Linked DNA regions of Homo sapiens: region 1 is linked to region 2. Evidence: promoter capture Hi-C in 16 types of primary human blood cells and fetal thymus (Javierre and others, 2016). All regions are on one chromosome and are shown on one strand. Each heading gives the region's core, a stretch centred on a gene start or on the middle of the fragment in contact. The rest is flanking DNA. Distances are from core to core; before and after follow the strand shown. Region 1 holds the start of SLC38A11 (solute carrier family 38 member 11). Region 2 holds the start of COBLL1 (cordon-bleu WH2 repeat protein like 1).

The links. The method cuts DNA at HindIII sites, captures the fragments that hold promoters and counts their contacts. A CHiCAGO score of 5 or more calls a contact.
Region 1: a contact is called between the fragment with the promoter of SLC38A11 here and the fragment with the promoter of COBLL1 in region 2, in 1 of 17 cell types (total B cells). The highest score is 5.0, in total B cells.

Annotation. Positions count from the first base shown.
Region 1 is chr2:164,954,176-164,957,267 of GRCh38, reverse strand. It overlaps SLC38A11 (solute carrier family 38 member 11), which reads left to right and starts at 1,743. Exons shown (of 12, transcript NM_001351537.2): 1 at 1,743-2,059; 2 at 2,523-2,637. The coding sequence starts at 2,021. The HindIII fragment of the contact is 8,780 bases long and covers 1-3,092 here.
Region 2 is chr2:164,840,228-164,843,310 of GRCh38, reverse strand. COBLL1 (cordon-bleu WH2 repeat protein like 1) reads left to right here and starts at 1,488. Exons shown (of 14, transcript NM_001365672.2): 1 at 1,488-1,601; 2 at 2,065-2,155. The coding sequence starts at 2,115. LOC101929633 (a long non-coding RNA gene) reads right to left here and starts at 2,562. Exons shown (of 2, transcript NR_110574.1): 1 at 2,489-2,562. RefSeq lists a silencer at 1,305-1,514. The HindIII fragment of the contact is 5,265 bases long and covers 832-3,083 here.

The DNA.
Region 1 (3,092 bases), core at 494-2,993, 110 kb before region 2:
TTCCCAGCTACTCCTGAGGCTGAGGCAAGAGAATCATTTGAACCCAGGAGGCAGAAGTTACAGTAAGCCCAGGTCACACCATTGCACTCCAGCCTGGGCAACAAAAGCGAAACTCCATCTCAATAATAATAATAATGATAATGAAGTTGAAAGTGTGCATGACCTACTACCTAACACTTCTACATCTAGAGAAATTGTCACTTTTATGCTCTGGAAGAGTGTAAAACGAGAAACAACCTTAATATCTTTCAGTAGGGGAAGGCTGACTTAACTGTTAGATAAAATGAAAAAAAAATCTGCATATATCTACATCATACATGCTGAAAACAAAAATGCCAGTGGAAAAATAACATGTACAATATGGCACCATCTTTGTAAATGTTGAAAATACAAAAGCCAATGTTATATATTGTTTATGGCTATAAATGAACGGATTAAAATACAAAGTATGAATAGCAAAGATAACACTAACTTGATGAACCGATGACTCCAGGGCTGAAGGCCTGGGGAAAGGAATGGAGAAGGTCAAGGGGGTTCCTATTGTGACATTGTGTTTACTTTTACAATTTGAAGAAAATATGACAGCATGTTAACATTTGATGGCAGAGTGTATATAAAGTTTATAAGTCTTTTGTTTTCCCACGGTTTTTAATTTTTTTTCTTAATTATAAGTAAACATGTATGAAACAGAACCTCTTTAATTAGGTACAGTTGGCCTCTATATCCCCACTTCTGCATCCATGCATTAAACCAATCCCAGATCAAAAATGTAGTTAGGGCTAGGATGGATGTGTCTATACTGAACACATATGGACTTTTTTCTTATTTCCTAAACAATACAGTATAACAACAAGTAAATAGCATTTACATTGTATTAGGTATTATAAATAATCTAGAGATGATTTAAAGTATGCTGGAGGATGTGCCTAGGTTACATGTAAATACCATGCTGTTTACTATCAAGGACCTGAGCATTCCTGGATTTCAGTATCTGCAGGGGTTCCAGAACCAATCCCCTATGGATATCAAGGGAAGGCAGAATTTGTTAAGTATGATGGCATATCACCGCTCTTATTGCCCCTGAAACTGTTGTCTCATGCATTCTGTCTCTGATATTGAATACTCTCTGGGCTTGTTGCTTCATCTGTAATGTAAGAGGACTGAATAGGTGGTCATTGAAGATTCTTTCTAGCTCAGGCACTGTAGGTGCCACCCCTTTCCCAAACCCTTGTACTCCTCTTTCCCTTTTCAAGGTTCATTACCTGAATGCAGTAACAATCCACCTTCATTTTCTCTATCGCTCCTTTTTCTAAAAGTTACCAGGAAGCGTTTGACCAAAGCATGCTCAGTAGTCAAGTTTGCTAAAACCCTAGGAAAGTTTTTTGTTTTGCTATTCATTTTCTTATGAGTCTTTCCATTTCCATTTACAATAAAAGTCCCAAATTTTCACTCGTCGTCTCTGCCATTGAAGAGGGGTAGCGAGGAGGAGGTGCTAATAGGGAAGATGGCCCATGGGCCCAAGGGTGCTTCTGCGTTCTTACCTGGGCTTCAGACCCCAGCAAAGGAGAAGCTAACTTAGGAACGGACTGCAACGAGGCGGTCATAACTCTGTGAGATCGGGGCAGGGCAGCGTGGGTGGAACAAGTTGTCCTCTGCAGCTCCAGGGAAGAGTAGCTCTCCCTGTTCTCTCAGGGAGGCGGGGGTGTGAAGGGGGGAGGCGGGGAGACAGGGCTGCCCGGATCAGAAACATCCTGCAGCATCTCCGTCTCCGGAGGAAAAATACATTTGTCTGGGCGAACTCCGGTGGAAAAGCGCCCCAGGCTGCCACAGCCTAGAGATCTTGGGGCTGCAGCCCTCGCGGCCTGCCGAGGGAGCAGGGGGCGCCCGTGGAACTGGCTCCCTGCAGCTCTGCGGCTACACGCGGACCTCGGCTGTGTGCGAGGTGGCGGAGGAGGCTGGCCGGGTGCGAATCCGTACCCAGCCCCAGCATCTTCCACCTGCTGAGGACCACCGCTCAGCCATGGGCTACCAGAGGCAGGAGCCTGTCATCCCGCCGCAGGTAAAACTAGCGACTAGGCAGGTTCTGAAGCCAGTTGTCCGGAAATTTCATTCACCTTGCAACAGGTCAGGTCACCTACCTTCACCTGGGCTCTTGGTTTAGCACCGCGAAAAGTTCTCTGGGACAAAAAGTTTTGCCTTAATCTGACTTTTTTTTTTTTTTTTCTTAGCAGGCACTTTAATTTCACAAAATCACATCACTGAATTCCTAACAGATCCTGTACTTAGCAGCTGGGGCAGCTGTAATCTGGAAATTTTAGGATGGAGTTTGCTTACCAAGCTCTGTTGAATTACTAGCTGTTATTGTTATTCTTTATTACTGTTATCCCGGCATTTATTTTATTTTCATTAGTGACATTACTTATTATTACTAGAAAATCGTGTTAGTATCCTGCATTACATATTTGTTACTTTTCTAATTTTCTGAACTAGTATTTGCTTATAATTGCTATTTTATCTATTAGAGAGATTTAGATGACAGAGAAACCCTTGTTTCTGAACATGAGTATAAAGAGAAAACCTGTCAGTCTGCTGCTCTTTTTAATGTTGTCAACTCGATTATAGGATCTGGTATAATAGGTAAGTGTATTTGCTTTGGTTTAAATTTTAAGTGAAAGGGCAAAATTTAAGACTCGCTACGCTGCTAGTGTTCATTAATTATTTTTAAAGAAAAAAAGACTTAAATAAGAAAATTGGTAATTTTCTTCCATAAAAGGCTTCCTTTTTTTCTAGTGTAACAGTATGTATGCATGTCTTTTATGCTGAAGATGGGGCTGTAATTCACACTGTTTCCACAGTTGAGAGCATCTTCCACATGTGGTAGATTAAGGTGAAACTGCATATGGGTGGTGGTGAATCATTTTTCTGTAGGCTGCGTGGTTGATTGCTAGTGTTACCGAATGTACTTTTTCCACTTACTGAAGGGTCCATCATTATTTGAATCATCTTTCTTTAACTTTCTAGAAGTATAAAACTTCCAGATATTTGTAAATGTTGGAGGTGAAAAGTTTAATATGAAAACATACCAATCTTAT
Region 2 (3,083 bases), core at 239-2,738:
TTAAAATCTCTAAAAGCAACTTTTTCTAATATGGTTCCAGTATTGTAATCCAAATGAGCCATGTGTTTTTTTCTTTTCATATTTAAGATGCACTGAAAGGACATTATGCACTGAAAGAAATAAATACCAATGCCTGCGTGTGGTAGACAAATGGCACATTGCTAGGCATTTAGTTCAGCAATCTTTTTTTGTTGCTGCAATGGATAACCAACTAAAGGAGCATTAATATCAATTTAATTGTAATACCTGCCAAATGTTATTCTATCAGTGGCTAACACAGGTTTATTACTTGATGTTAGTGCTACAACAGAAGTCCCCTGCAGGATGTTCCTTCCTGTAAGATCTCTCCATCAGTTTAATCCAAATATGTTTTTAAAACTCTAATTTTAAATTCATTTCTTAATGTCACGTTGTTTTCTGAAAACACATTTTTGGGCCCATCAGAATGGCGCGCATCTTAAAACAATTGGCGCTTATGAAAAATATAAAATATGTAAATATATTAGGGTGGTGCAAAAGTAATTGCGGTTTTGTCATTACTTTTTAAAAAAAAAAAAAATGGCAAAAACCGCAGTTACTTTTGCACCAACCTAGTACCTGTCTGTCAGGTGTAAAGAATCATCTAAAGGGCATGCACGTGGATACTAAAACGTACAAACAAGCACACAGCTGTGTCTGATTCCTTTACCCTTGTAAAAGTTCCAATAAGTGAATACAATCTATTACTTAATTCTTAGTTTATAGACTGTCATTAGACATACTGTTGTCCAGTTCTCATGTCAGAGCTGTTATAGGCTTTTACAAAAAATGCCTCTGAAGACAGGGCAAGCTTAAACCTGCCACCAATTAGAAAGATCTGTGTCACAGGTGCGCTTTTAAAAGAATGGCAATCTTAAAGGTCAAGTTAAAAACACAAATTTAAAAAAACGATCCTGGACGTCGAGGGTCGGACTCTAGGGGGGGCAAGCTGCAGGCCCCACTCTGCGAGTTTCTGACCGCATTCCGCGGAGGCCCCAATCCTCCCCGCGGATCCTGGCAAGGCAGGTAACCTCCCTTCCCCCGCACCTGTCCGGTTCAGGCGCACCAGCCTTCCCGAAGCGCAGCCTAGCGGTGGGAATGGGAACACCTCGTCTGGGAGCTTTCTTTCGGTTCAGCTTCCCCAGCCGGACCCCAAAGACCCGAAGCCCTGGGGGAAGGAAATTCCAACTTGCTCCCGGCCCACCCCCGCCCCGTTCCTCTCTCCGGCTCGCTGCTTCCCTCGCTCCAATGCCGCCGAGCTGGTCCCCACTTATGTGCGGCCGTGCTGCAGAGGCGGCGGCGAGCTCCCGGACTCCGGGCAGGGAAATGGGGCAGGGTGAGTGAGAGAGCGGGCTCCAGCGAGGCCCCCAGCGCCCAGCCAGCGCCCGCACCCCGCCCGCGGGACAGGGGAGGTGCTGAGTCGGCCCTGCCCGCGCTGGGCTGAGCCTCGCAGGGGTTGCCGCTTCTCCATTCAAGTCCTGGCTTGAGAGCCGAGCGGCAAGAGCGCGGGCCGGGGAAGGGAAGAGTAGGAGAGGAAGCCGCGAGGGAGAACAGGCGAGCTACTGTCTCCTTTGGAAAAGAACGTAGGAGCCTTGGGTGGGAAAAGAGAGATCAGCCCTCCCAACTTCTCTTCGGGAAAAGTTTTCCTAGGGCGTTTTGTTTGTGCAAACTCGGCCGGAGGAGCCTGGGAGTGCGCTGCCGGCGTGGCAGCGGTGCCCGTGCGCCCGGCCCCGCTCCTCCTCCTTTTCCAGCCCCGGCGGCTCCTCTCCCTCCGAGAGGCGCCAAATGGCTACCCAGTAAACCCCACGGGGCGGGGGCTGCAGCGCCACCGCCTCCTCCGCCGTGCTCTGGGCGCCCGCTAGACCTTGTAGAGACGGCGGCGGCGCCCGCGGGCTGGGAGCCGGGGCCCGCAGGTGGAAGCGCACCCGGGAGGCGGGCCGGCCGGGGCTGGAGCGGCTCGGGCGGGCTCTTGACGCTCAGCCAGCTTCGCTCCGGCCTCGGGAAGGCGCGCGTCCCGCCCTGACCCGCCGGCCTCTCCCACCCCAGCAGTGACGCGCCGCCTGGGAGCTGGAGCCCGCGCAGCGCCCCGCAGGGCGATGGACGGCCGAACCCCGCGCCCGCAGGACGCCCCAGCCAGGTAAGCCCAGAGCGCCGCGCCGCCTCTCACCGGGGAGGGCGAGGCCGGCGAGGACAGCGAGGCCTCGGCCGTTTCACCTGGCTGGCAACTCGCTGCCCTGCCGGCGGCCTGACTCACTGACTGTCCTCCACGCGGCCGGGGAGGCTGCTTCCTCCCGGCCTTCTCGGAGGCCGCCCGGGCGGAGGGCTCGGGTCGTTTTTGGTTGCCTTCCTACCGGGGCTGCCCTGGGTTGCTACAGGCCAGCTGAATGCCAGGAATTGGGTGAGGAGTCCGGGAGCAAAAATTGTAACAAAGGGACCCTTGTTTGGGCTCTGGGGGAGCGGTGGACGATACCTGTAAGTGAGCTCCTGGGGAGGGAGGGCAAAAGTTTCCTTGGTCATGGGCTGAGGCCCAGGCAGGTGAGCAATGTCAAGGTGACTGTAGGGAGTGGGCTTTCTGCAGGCGGGTGGAGGGCGACAGGAGGGTGTGCCAGCTGTCAGCCCGCATGACAGTTCCGGGAGCGAGCGGGGTGCGCGCCTCTGATTGGGGGTGTGTGTGCCTGTGGCCAATTGCTGGTTCCAAAACCCAGCGCAAATCAGATTGCAAACAACTCTACTTTTCTTTTTATCCTCACATGTTTGAGAAGAGAGGAAGGGGGCTGTCACATGGTGAGTTAATATTAAATGAGGCATGTCTTCCTGCCAGATATGCTAATAGTTACCTTGTTAAGCGTTTGAGTAAACAGTAATGAGAACAGGTAGTTCTGCAAGAGATGAAGAAAACCTGAAAATAACCTTGGTCTTAGTAAATAGTTCAGGAGTAACCTGGATGCTAGTTGAGTTTCTCAAGTAGGAAACTCGTTTGATGTAGTACAAGATTTTTCCCCCCAGCATAAGTGTTCCTCCAACATAGTTTATTTTCTTAGTTAATCTGAATGCAGAAATGCCCT